Linked DNA regions of Homo sapiens: all the other regions are linked to region 1. Evidence: promoter capture Hi-C in 16 types of primary human blood cells and fetal thymus (Javierre and others, 2016). All regions are on one chromosome and are shown on one strand. Each heading gives the region's core, a stretch centred on a gene start or on the middle of the fragment in contact. The rest is flanking DNA. Distances are from core to core; before and after follow the strand shown. Region 1 holds the start of LTBP2 (latent transforming growth factor beta binding protein 2). Region 2 overlaps YLPM1 (YLP motif containing 1). Region 3 overlaps YLPM1 (YLP motif containing 1). Region 4 overlaps YLPM1 (YLP motif containing 1).

The links. The method cuts DNA at HindIII sites, captures the fragments that hold promoters and counts their contacts. A CHiCAGO score of 5 or more calls a contact.
Region 2: a contact is called between a fragment that was not itself captured here and the fragment with the promoter of LTBP2 in region 1, in 7 of 17 cell types (endothelial precursors, megakaryocytes, erythroblasts and 4 more). The highest score is 14.7, in endothelial precursors.
Region 3: a fragment that was not itself captured here is called in contact with the fragment with the promoter of LTBP2 in region 1 in 9 of 17 cell types (endothelial precursors, M2 macrophages, M1 macrophages and 6 more); the score reaches 11.2 in endothelial precursors.
Region 4: a contact is called between a fragment that was not itself captured here and the fragment with the promoter of LTBP2 in region 1, in 9 of 17 cell types (endothelial precursors, erythroblasts, megakaryocytes and 6 more). The highest score is 15.4, in endothelial precursors.

The regions. Positions count from the first base shown.
Region 1 is chr14:74,610,923-74,614,065 of GRCh38, forward strand. It overlaps LTBP2 (latent transforming growth factor beta binding protein 2), which reads right to left and starts at 1,315. Exons shown (of 36, transcript NM_000428.3): 1 at 529-1,315. The coding sequence starts at 1,022. LOC101928352 (a long non-coding RNA gene) reads left to right here and starts at 2,263. Exons shown (of 2, transcript XR_944029.4): 1 at 2,263-2,373; 2 at 2,645-3,126. RefSeq lists an enhancer at 1,371-1,998 and a silencer at 1,626-1,945. The HindIII fragment of the contact is 11,176 bases long and covers 1-3,143 here.
Region 2 is chr14:74,815,184-74,818,167 of GRCh38, forward strand. YLPM1 (YLP motif containing 1) reads left to right here. Exons shown (of 21, transcript NM_019589.3): 12 at 1,020-1,082; 13 at 1,388-1,507; 14 at 1,748-1,924; 15 at 2,011-2,094. Among named protein-coding and RNA genes, the nearest start is that of YLPM1, 53 kb to the left of the region's middle. The HindIII fragment of the contact is 1,282 bases long and covers 648-1,929 here.
Region 3 is chr14:74,781,686-74,784,927 of GRCh38, forward strand. It overlaps YLPM1 (YLP motif containing 1), which reads left to right. Exons shown (of 21, transcript NM_019589.3): 4 at 1-640. Among named protein-coding and RNA genes, the nearest start is that of YLPM1, 20 kb to the left of the region's middle. The HindIII fragment of the contact is 1,293 bases long and covers 721-2,013 here.
Region 4 is chr14:74,798,649-74,801,749 of GRCh38, forward strand. YLPM1 (YLP motif containing 1) reads left to right here. Exons shown (of 21, transcript NM_019589.3): 5 at 1-1,049. Among named protein-coding and RNA genes, the nearest start is that of YLPM1, 37 kb to the left of the region's middle. The HindIII fragment of the contact is 1,574 bases long and covers 952-2,525 here.

The DNA of each region.
Region 1 (3,143 bases), core at 65-2,564:
CGACCCACGCCCCACGACACTTGTCCCGACGCACCAGCTTCGCTGCCGGCTCCCCTCCTGGAGACGCATCTACCTTCTCTCCATGGGGCCCCCGACACCTCCGCCAACCCGCGCTCTGAGCCAGCTCAACCTCCCCTGGGCGTCAAGAGCCTGGAGCGCCCACCCTCCTGCCCTCTCCCCGCTGCCTCTCAGATCCCGGCAGCGCTGCAAGAGTCTACAAGAGCTCGTTAGTTGCAGGCAGGAGGAACGCGGGCGAGTGGAGAGGCGCCTTGCGAAAGGATTTAACGTCGGGGCTCCGGGAGAGTTGGTAAGAAAGGATGAGGATGATGATCTATCTGCCTTCAACTCTTCGAAAGCGGATCAAATCTTCCAATCCCGATTTTGGAACCTCGGGGCTGTTTCCCGAAGTACTAAAGACAGAGGGACGAGGGTATGAGAGCGGCGCCCTCTCCTCTCGCCTGCACGCCCCTCCACAAATGAGCCCTGGCTCCCCTCTGTACCCTCCAAACTTCCCTCTCCCATGCTCACCCCGTGAGCCGCCCTCGCGGCGGGGTTGGGGGCGCAGCCCCAGACCGCTGTGGGGTCCCCAGGCGTGGGAGAGCCGGCGCGGCCCGGGTCCGGGGTGCTGGTTGCTGCTGGCCCAGGGGAGTGCTTCTCCGGGTCTGCGCAGGTGGCTGGACACGCCGCGACTGCTGCGCGCGGGACGGCCTCCTGGCCTCCGCCTCGGTGGGCCTCCTGGGGCTCCCCCAGCCCGGCTGGGCCCGCTCCACGGGCTGCAAGCCCGCGACAGGCGCGTCCTGCTCCCGGAACAGACTGTACACCTTGGCTGCAGCCGCTGCCGGGTAGCTGCCCCCAGGGCGCCGCAGTCGATTCGCGTCTCCACCAGCCGGCTCGTATCTCCCTACGGGGTCCCTTTGGGCATGACCCGCGCCCACGAAGAGAGCCAGGGTGAGCGGCAGGAAGCCTCTCCAGGGGTTCCGCAGGGCGCGCCCCGGGCTGCGGGCTTTGGTCCGCGGCCTCATGGCGCGGGGCGGCTGGAGAGTGGTGCGCGCGGGCACCGCGAAGAGCTTTGTGGTCGGCACGCTGGACGCCCGCGGGCTGTTCTCCCGGCCCCGCCCGGCGGCCAGCTTCTCTGAGTCTAGGGGGCCCTGAAGCGGCCGACTGGGGGCCCGGCTCTCGGCGGAACGAGGGCTGCGCGCCCCGAGCCTCGAGTCCGCGCTCCTACTCCAGCTGGGCTCGCACGGCTGCTGCACCTTCGCGCCTCCTCCCTGTGCCTGCAGCCGTCTGAAGGGGACCCGGACGGTTTTATTTTTGGAAACCTCCCCCGGCTTTTTCGTCTCTTTTATCCACACCAGGCCCCCTCCTCGGAGGGACAGCTCAGCCCCCTCATTACCGGAGAGGGAGCGAGGAATTCCAGCAACACCCACTTTGGCACCGGGAAGCCAGCGGGCGGCGAGCGGGCGGCGAGGGGGATTAACCCGTGCGGAGCAGGGGGCGGCGCGGGGCTGACCCAGGCGCTGGTCGGGCAGATGGCGCCTGCCACGACCGGGACACTGGGCCGCCTTTCTCCTGCTCTGGGCAAGTTCGAACTGCAGACCTGCCCCGAATCGTTCTCCCGCCCCTCGCCTCAGGGACCGTCTTTGGATCGGGGGACCCAGGCTGCAGCCTTGCAGGTCTGAAGGAAGCCGGGAGGGGCGCCGAGGCCCGCGTAGGGGAACAGGGCCGCCGCCCCCTCCGCTTGCGCCCTGGCCGCTGGGGGCGCCCTCCGCAGGGCCGGCCGGAGCGGGGGTGGCGCGGGGCGGGGCGCGGCGCGCGGAGCGCAGGGAGGTCCCGGGCGCGCCCCCTGGCGGAGCTGGCGGCCCTGGCGCTCCGTGGCTGCAATGCCCTGGCGCCGCCGCCTTCGCTCTGGATCTCAATCCCCTTCCACTGGCGTGAGGGTCACGCCTGAGCCTGGCGCGGTGATGGCTGCCGGTAGAAGAGGGGTCCTCTTTTTCTTTTTCTTTTTCTTTTCTTTCTTTCTTTCTTTCTTTTTTTTGAGACGGAGTTTCGCTCTTGTTGCCCAGGCTGGAGTGCAATGGTGCGATCTCAGCTCCCCGCAACCTCCGCCTCCCGGGTTCAAGCGATTCCCCTGCCTCAGCCTCCCTAGTAGCTGGGATTACAGGCATGCGCCACCAAGTCTGACTAATTTTGTATATTATTTTATTTTTTAGTACAGACGGGGTTTCTCCATGTTGGTCAGGCTGGTCTCGAACTCCCAACCTCAGGTGATCCGCCCGCCTCGGCCTCCCAAAGTGCTGGGATTAAAGGCGTGAGCCACCACGCCCGGCCAAGGGGTCCTCTTTTTCACCGAGGCAAAGACACGGAGCCTCTTGAGTAAGTCACTCAAGGAGATAGCGCATGTGAAAGAGGGGAGTGGAATCTAGGCCTCCCGCCTCTGGCTGAATCCATTCCCGGGATCCCACCCAGCCCTTCACTCTCTCGGGAATTTCCCAGAGGGGGATTCGGTGACCCCGATTGACCCAGTGTGTGCATTCACATCTTGTGTTAGCAGGGAGGCGGGCAGGGGTGTGGGAATGCTGACTGCCGCTGTCTGCGTGTCCCCAGTAATCAGCACACCATTCTCACCCATGCTCCCTCCCTACAGCCTAAAGGCTTGGATCAACAGGGCTGCCCCTGGCACATTTGTACAGCCTATTTCCCAGAGAGGCAGAGTGAAGGAGCTGGCATGTGGGCACCAGTTCACAACCTCCCACACCACACAAAAGACAAGCCCAGGTAATATCTACTGTTGAAATAAAGCCTCGACCCCTGGCCTTGGCCTACAAACCCTAGCTGGCTGCCCCCGCTCTGATTTCATCTGGCCTCTTGCTCTCCCTTACCCACCACACTGTGCTGCCTTGGCCCTCTCTCTGCTCCTTGAACAAGCCAAGTGAATGCCCCCTTCCCTCTACTGGAAGGTTCCTCTCCAGGATGTTAGAGGGTAGTTCCTCATCACTGCTCCTCTCAGATTAAATATCAGCTCCTGGAGTAGCCATCCCTGACCTCCAATCTAGAGCAGCCCTCCCTCACCCCAGTCATGACTCTAACACACCACCCTGTTTCATCTTCATAAAACAGTTGACATCATCTTGTTATTGATTTGT
Region 2 (2,984 bases), core at 39-2,538, 200 kb after region 1:
GCCACTGAGCCCAGCTTTCATTTCTGATTCTGGTAATTTGAATCTTCTTTTTTTTCTATTCAGCCTAGGTAAGAGTTCATCAATTTTGTTGATCTTAGTCAGGCGTGGTGGCTCATGCCTGTCATCCCAGCACTTTGGGAGGCTGAGGTGGGCGGATCACTTGAGGCTAGGAGTTCAAGACCAGCCTGGTCAACACGGTGAAACCCCATCTCTACTAAAAACACAAAAATTAGGCGGGCGTGGTGGCAGGCACCTGTAATCCCAGCTGCTTGGGAGGCTGAGGCATGAGAATCGCTCAAACCTGGGAGGCAGAGGTTGCGATGAGCCAAGATTGCACCACTGCACTCCAGCCTGGGCAACAGAGCAAGACTCCATCTCAAAAAAAAAAAAAAAAGTTGGTCTTTTTAAAGAACCACTGCCACCGTTTGGTTTTATTGACTTTTTCTCTTTTGTTTTTCTGTTTTCTATTTTATTAACTTCTGCTTTAATCTTTATTGTTTCTTTCCTCTGTTTCTTTAGTTTGCTCTTCTTTTTCAAGTGTCTTAAAGTGGATGGTTAAGTTATTGATTTGAGACCTATTTCTTTCCTACTATAGGCATTTATAGCTATCAATTTCCTTTTAAGCACTGCTTTAGCTGTATCCTGTAAGCTTTGGTGTGTTGTGTTTTTTTCATTCATCTCAGAGTATTTTCTGGTTCCTCCTGGTTTCTGGCTCCTCTTGATTTCTGGTTCCTCTTCATTTTTTCTTTGATTCATTGGTTATTTAGGAGTATGTTGTTTAGTTTTCACGTATTTGTGAGTTTCTCTAATTTTTTCTTACTATTAATTTCTAATTTCATTCCACTGTGGTCCAGTGACATACTTTATATTATTTCTGTCCTTTCAAATTTATGAAGGTTTGTTTCATGGCCTGTTGTATAGTCTATCCTGGAAAATGGTAGGTCATTGTTAACTGTTATCTCATTGCAGAAAATTTTCTCTCAGTGATTTTTTTTTTTTTTTGGTCTATTCTGTTTCAGATTGTTGTTATAATGAGAGGATTACCTGGCAGTGGAAAGACACATGTTGCAAAACTTATTCGAGTGAGTATGGGGAAGCTGAAAAATCAGCTGCTTGTGCTGCTTGTGTTAGTAGTCACTTGCCTTCTTATTAATAGCAAGCAACATAATGCCAATAGAATTGTCTTCCATTTGATCCATTACAGTTGGCCCATGTGGTAGATGTTGTCCCATATATATTTTTATCTACTCAGAGAAACATTTTTGCCTCTGCTTGATTTGAAACCACCAGAAGATTGTATATTATTTAGCCACAAGAGGGAACTTTGGTGTGAACATTAATTTATTCCATAAATTCGTTTTAACCTTCTTGACTGTATGATTCTTAGGATAAGGAGGTAGAATTTGGAGGACCTGCACCCAGAGTTCTAAGCCTGGATGATTACTTCATCACTGAAGTGGAAAAAGAAGAAAAAGATCCAGATTCTGGAAAGAAAGTGAAAAAGAAGGTATGGTATTCATCTCAGATCTCGTTCTGATTCATTAATAGTATTTAAAGGAAAATGTGTTTGGAGAGAAATGTGGCTTTTTTGAGGGCAGGGACCTCTCTCTTTTCCGAACACAGTACTTTAGTACTTGGGTGTGAAGGAAAGACTACAAAGTCATCTCTATCCAAATACTAACCAAGGAAAAGGTTTTGGATGATTCTTTGCTTTTGCTAATTCCATATCTCTTTTGGGGGACCTTAGGTAATGGAATATGAATATGAAGCTGAGATGGAGGAGACTTACCGCACCAGCATGTTCAAAACTTTCAAAAAGACTCTGGATGATGGCTTTTTTCCCTTCATCATCCTGGATGCCATCAATGACAGAGTTAGGCATTTTGACCAGTTTTGGAGTGCAGCAAAAACCAAGGGATTTGAGGTAGAAGCTTAAAGAACTTTAAAGTACTTTGTGTTGTCATGTAAATGTTATATATCTTTGCCTAATTATTATTCATTCTTGCTTAGGTATATTTGGCTGAAATGAGTGCAGATAACCAGACTTGTGGCAAGAGAAATATTCATGGAAGAAAGCTTAAAGAAATAAATAAGGTGATTTTAAGAAACATAGAATAATAGAGTACTATCATGCGCTGCATAATGATGTTTTGGTTAAGGAAGGACTGCATATATGGTGGTCCCATAAGATTATAATGTATTTTTATTGTACCTTTTCTGTGTTTAGATATGTTTAAGTACACAAATACTTCATTGTGTTGCAGTTGCCTACAGTATTCAGTACATTAACATGCTGTACAAGTTTGTAACCTAGATGTGCAGTAGGCTTTATCATCTAGGTTTGTGTAAGTATACTCCATGATGTTCACACAATGACAAAATTGCCTAATGACCCATTCCTCATAATATATGCCCATTGCTAAGTGATGTGTGACTGTACTCTAAACCTCATATTATCTGTATCAGCACTCTTGTCTGGAAGCTCTTGTTTATCTCCTTTTTTTTTCATAATAACTTTCCTATCTGCTTTAGTAAATGTTTCTCTTCCTTTGTTTCTTTTCCTAGCTCTTCTTGAAATTAGCCTGTTATGGCCTGGCATGGTGGCTTAGGCCTGTAATCCCAGCACTTTGGGAGGCTGAGGTGGGCGGATCGCTTGAGCCTGGGAGTTTGAGACCAACCTGGGCAACATGGCGAAACCCTGTCTCTACAAAAAAATACAAAAATTAGCTGGGCATGGTGTCATGTGCCTGTGGTCCCAGCTACTGGGGAGGCTGAAGTGGGAAGATCACTTGAGCCCACCATGTCAAGGCTGCAGTGAGCCATGTTGGCGCCACTACACTCCAGCCTGGGTGACAGACCGAGATTCTGTCTCAAAAAAAAAAAGAAATTAGCCCATTAGACTTTACAATATTAAATTAATATTTAACAAATATTTAATTAATATTTAACAATATTTTAAAATATTGTTAAATGTTGTTTATCTT
Region 3 (3,242 bases), core at 117-2,616, 170 kb after region 1:
CCCCTGCCCTCCCTGCTACAGTGCCACCACCTGGCATGCCCCCACCTGTTATGCCACCTTCTCTACCAACCTCTGTTCCCCCACCAGGGATGCCTCCTTCTCTCTCTTCTGCAGGGCCACCACCAGTTCTCCCCCCACCTTCCCTGTCTTCTGCAGGGCCACCACCAGTTCTTCCCCCACCATCTCTCTCTTCAACAGCACCTCCACCTGTCATGCCCCTCCCACCATTGTCTTCAGCTACACCTCCTCCAGGAATACCTCCCCCTGGAGTTCCACAAGGGATACCTCCTCAGTTAACAGCAGCCCCAGTTCCACCAGCCTCCAGTTCACAGAGCTCGCAAGTTCCAGAGAAACCTAGACCAGCACTGCTTCCTACTCCTGTGTCTTTTGGTTCTGCCCCACCGACAACTTACCATCCTCCGTTGCAATCAGCTGGTCCATCAGAACAAGTGAATTCAAAAGCTCCTTTGAGCAAGTCTGCTCTGCCATACAGTTCATTCTCATCTGATCAAGGACTTGGGGAGTCTTCAGCTGCTCCATCTCAGCCAATCACTGCAGTGAAGGACATGCCAGTGAGATCAGGTGGCCTGCTTCCAGATCCTCCTAGAAGTAGTTACTTGGAAAGTCCAAGAGGCCCAAGGTAGGTCTGCTTTTTTTTCTCTTTTTTTTTGGTTTGGCTATTTTATTGACTTAGGCTATTTGGTTCTCGATGGTATAAAAAGCTTCATTTATACAATGTTTATACTCTCTTTGTACTTATATTGTCTGCTTGTTAAGACATCACGTATGTAATCTAGAAAAGGTAACATGCCCCCATTTCTTTGATGTCTCTGCTTTTGTCCTATATGTAGAGATTATAATCCAGAATGAATGTAGTATTGTAGAGTAATGCTAATCATTTTGTATTGACTTATTAGCTTTAAAAATAATATTAAACTTTATCTTTTGTTTGCTTTTTCATTCATTTGACAAATAATTGAATTGGCAATTACTATTTGTTAGATAATTTGTTAGTTGTTAGAGATAAAGATGAATAAGCCAATATTCTACTGGCTTGAGGCAGTGAAATTTAGCATAAGGTAAGTAGGACTTTTATTTTATCCATTCAGCAAATATTTAAGTTCCTGCTCTTGTACTTAGAGCAGTGAATATAGCAGAACACATAAAATTCCTGCCCCCATGGAGCTTACATCCTTTATATTTTCCCCAGTTAAGGAGATACTTCTGTTTATCCTGAACAACATATTTAGAAAGAAAAAAAATTGCTGGTGTGTAAGTTTTTTCTCTTTACCTTCTAAAAACTGTTAAATTCATTTTTTCCAAGTTTGTAAAAATAGATTTTTCTCCCCAAGTTGACCTAAATGATAACTTTTCTATGGAAATTATTATTATTTTTTGAGACAGGGTCTCGGTTTTTCACCCAGGCTAGTGTGCAGTGATAGAATTATGGCTCAGTGCAGCCTCTTCCTCCTGGGTTCAAGCAGTCCTCCCACCTCAGCCTCCCAGGTGGCTGGGACCAGAGGTGCGCACCAACACATCTGGCCAGTTTTTAAAAAATACTTCGTAGAGATGGGGATCTTCCTATGTTGACCAGGCTGGTCTCAAACTCCTGGGCTCAAGCGATCCTCCTGCCTTGGCCTCCCTGCCTGCCGTGGCCTCCCAAAGTGCTGGGATTACAGGTGTGAGCCACCACGCTCAGCCAGAAAAATACTTTAATCAGTTTTTTTCTCAGTTGGGAATTGTAGTAGAAATGGGTACTCCTTATACAAAATTCAAACATTACAGAAAAGTGTAGAAAAAAGTGAAAGTCACCTAATTCCACCATCTGGAGAGAATCATTTTAAAAATATATGTTGCAGAAATGGGATCATACTGAGTAGATTATCTTATAACTTATTTTTCCACCAATCTGCGTATTGCTTAGATTTTCATCTCAGTATCAGTGGATCTACATCATCATTTTTTTCAACCTCATTTTAACATTTGAAAACAAAATATATCTTTTATTCCCCAAGCTTATAATTCTGAAAGCAGTGTGGCACAAAACTCCATCCACAATCAAAGTTAAGAGAAAGGGCAATTAACATGAATTCCTCTGTGTACCAAGAAGCCTTGCTAGAGACTTTACACACATTATTATCTCATGGAAGTCTTCTCAACAACCTGTGAAGTAGGCAGATTATTCTCCATTTACTCTTAACAAAATGGCACTGAGAGGACTGCGTAACTTGCTCAGTCAGGATTATTTAGCAGAGTGAGTAGAACCCCAGAATAGGTACAGTTGAGTCTAGAGGGTCCCCAAAGCAAAAGTACTATTTAAGCTCTGTTTACTGCCATGATTCAAGCCTATACTGTCAGTGCTTATTTGGCATGTGTATCATCTTGATTTGAATTCGTTCTTAATCTCCTGGAATGAGCATTGCCTTTTAGATCTGGTAACTAATTTGCTATCAGAGAAGTACATTCTTAACACCTCATGAAACATACATTTCCTGCTCCCTTGATTTCCGTCATGTTAATATTTTCTCTCTTTGCCTACTAAATCTTGGCTGTGTGAATTTAGGACCTATTTTAAGTTTTGTCTTCAGAAGAAAATAACTTCTCAAGTTAATAATCTCTGTGCTGGGAGGATATTAGCAATTATCTAATATATCTGTCTACGGCAACGCACGTTTGTATTCCATTTCAGTTTGTCACAATGAGTCTTGCACATATCATCTTATTTATTCCTCTTAGTGATATCAGGAGGTAAATAAATACATAAGAAAAGCTGAGATTCAGAGAGGTTGTAAATACCTTGCCTCATATAACACAGCTAGTAAATGGTCAAGATGAGATTAGAATCCAAGGACTTCTGACCCACTTTAAGTCCATTGTACTTTCTGTGATGAGCAGTTGTATGCTTAACATTGGCATTGTGATTAGGAACACTGCCATATAAGGCATTGATTCTAGAAAGTTTGTTTTTTACATTGAACCTAAATGTGATTCTTTAACTTTTATCTGTTGATTCTAGATTTGCCTCTGGAGCAACACAGAATGAATTATCCTATGCCTCTTCTACAGCATGTCACTACAGTTATTTAAAAACTATTACCCTCATGTCTCCCTCACCCTACCTCACCCAGTTTGCTCTGCCAATCACAACTCAGATTCTTTTCATCTTAACATTGTTTCTAACCTCATCCTGCTGTACTGCTCACTGTCCTTTGAAGGGCCTTTAGTTTGTTAGTCTCCTTCAG
Region 4 (3,101 bases), core at 489-2,988, 190 kb after region 1:
GGCAGTCAGGAGAGGGGACCTCTTCGAAGGGCTGGGAGTAGAGAGAGAATACCACCCCGAAGAGCTGGGAGCAGGGAGAGAGGACCACCTCGAGGGCCTGGCAGTCGAGAAAGGGGACTGGGAAGATCAGATTTTGGTCGTGATAGAGGTCCATTCAGACCAGAACCAGGAGATGGTGGGGAAAAAATGTATCCATATCACCGGGATGAGCCTCCTAGGGCTCCATGGAACCATGGAGAAGAGCGAGGGCATGAAGAGTTTCCATTAGATGGTAGAAATGCTCCAATGGAACGAGAAAGACTCGATGACTGGGATAGAGAGAGATACTGGAGAGAATGTGAACGTGACTATCAAGATGATACACTAGAGCTCTATAACAGAGAGGACAGGTTCTCAGCACCACCATCTCGGTCTCATGATGGAGATAGGCGAGGCCCTTGGTGGGATGATTGGGAGAGAGACCAGGATATGGATGAGGACTACAATAGGGAAATGGAAAGGGACATGGACAGGGATGTGGATCGGATTTCAAGACCTATGGATATGTATGATAGAAGTTTGGATAATGAGTGGGACAGAGATTATGGGAGACCACTGGATGAACAAGAATCACAGTTTCGTGAACGGGATATTCCATCTCTTCCACCTTTACCGCCCCTCCCACCTCTTCCACCTTTGGATAGATATCGGGATGATAGATGGAGAGAAGAAAGAAATCGAGAGCATGGGTATGATCGAGATTTCCGTGATAGGGGTGAGTTGAGGATTCGAGAGTATCCAGAAAGAGGAGATACATGGCGGGAAAAGCGAGATTATGTTCCTGACAGAATGGACTGGGAAAGAGAACGGTTGTCAGACAGATGGTACCCATCTGATGTGGATAGACATTCCCCCATGGCGGAACATATGCCCTCCTCACATCATTCCTCAGAAATGATGGGGTCCGATGCAAGCTTAGACTCTGACCAAGGCCTTGGAGGGGTAATGGTTCTCAGTCAGAGGCAGCATGAAATCATTTTGAAAGCTGCACAAGAACTGAAAATGCTTCGGTAAGTTGACTCCTTCAGATCCTTTCTTTTAATAAAAACCACATTCAGACTGCTCTTTTTAAAGTGATATGATATATTTGAATGGAATCATTTTACTTCAAGTTCTTATCACATACTTTTAATTTATATTTCTGGTCATTCAGTGCTGTTTTAGGGTTAGAATGGGTATTTAGGAACTGTGTTAATGATAAACTTATGCCCTAAGATGTGAAAATTGATTGCTGTCTTGGCCTTTGTAGAAGTGTTGCTGGCATGCCATGCCTGTGCATGTTTCAAGTGTCAAACTTCAACTTTTCAGTGCTCTGGATTTCACAGGGTTCATGTGTAACCTTCATTTTTTCCAGTAATCAGTTTGTTCTTTGGTATTAGATCTGATAGACTTTATATTCACTAATCATTGATAAAACTTTGGAAAGTGCTGTATTTTTCTTTGTTGAAGCTAAGAATGGTTTGCTTAGGAGCATCCTCAGATTTGTCTTAACTATTGATACTTTCTTTTGGGGATGTTTTATCTTTCATTATAACTAAAAGCAGATATTTCTCCTTGAGGATGTTATTTGTTTCTACATAACCAAATGTTTTCTTTGTGAAATGGAAAATAGGATTTCTTGACTTACAATCAACTGTGTATAGGTATCTACATAATTTTCCTCTTTTCTTGTGGTAACAACAATAACAAAAGCTAACATTTATTGCATGCTTACTCCGGGCCAGGAACTGTACTAAGTGTGTTGTGTATAATAAACTCATTTAATCCTTAAACCAGCTGTATCTTGGGATAGGAATTTAGAAGTCAGTGACAGATTGAAAACTTTTTTAAAGCAATTTTTTTGAGAAAGTCAATTAATGATTAGGTTTTGATAAATTCCAATGTATTTCTTCCATTTTTCAATTCTGGTTTACATTTGTGGATCTTAACAATAAATTATAACTTAAACTTTAGAACTAGGAAAGAAAAATACGGTGAAGAAAAGGTAATGATGAAAGACCAGATACGGCAGGTTTGTATGGTCTATAGCTAAGAGGTTTATTTTTTCCAGATTACTCATGAAGAAAATGTGGAAAGCATGCTATAGAATATTTAGCTACTACACTATTCACTTTTAAGTTATAGACACCTTTAATTTTAACACCTACCGTGTAACTGGGCACTTGCTAATAATTGAGTGTATATTATGTCAGTCTGTCTATCTCAAAGGCCTGCAAAGATAAGGTAGTATTATCCCCACTTCACAAATGACACTAAAGTTCAAAGAGGTTAAGTTCCCTTGGCTAGTAAGTGGCAAACCCGGCCTTTGAACTCAATCTGTCTAAAACTCTAAAATCTGTGTTATTTATGGAGAATACCAAGCTGATTGGTGTTGTTAAGCTGCCAAGGTTTCTTTTTTTTTCCTTTTTAAATTTCTTTTTAATTCGTTATTGCTTTGCATGGTAATGCTGGATAAAAGGTGCTGCTGCTGCTTCATCCTTTTTTAAAGCTTTCTAGGCAACATGAACATAATTAAACAATATATAGGGAGTGATGGATAATGTCATAGCCGAATACAAGTCGTTTATGTTGTGTCAGTGTAAAGTCGTAAGGAGTATCATAAGGGATGTGATGATGGGATTTACCTGAGCAGTAAATAATCTTACACACTTGACCCTTACTTTGTGGTCCCTCATTTGTGGACCCTCATTTGGGTCACTTTAATGTAAGGAGAAAATTGTAAAAGGTCTTAAGAAATTGTAGTGGATTTTACCTATGTTTAAGGTAGGCATTGTGAAAAAAAGTAAAAGGAATTTCGTCAGTTTAAAGAAAAAACCGAAGGATTACATAATTATCTTCAGGAATATGAAATGTTGTTTTTAAAGGTATAGACTGACAGTTGTTCTCACCATCTACAGCAGGGGCCATAAATTAAAATGTCCCCAAGAATCAGATAACAAAAATGAGTGAAAGTGGGCCAAGTATAACTCTGTAGAGTACGGTGAAGATTGTGACAGGTTGTTTCATCTAACATGGGCAGCCTCTACTGCACTCAGCTGATTGTTGGCATGTGGGAATGTAGG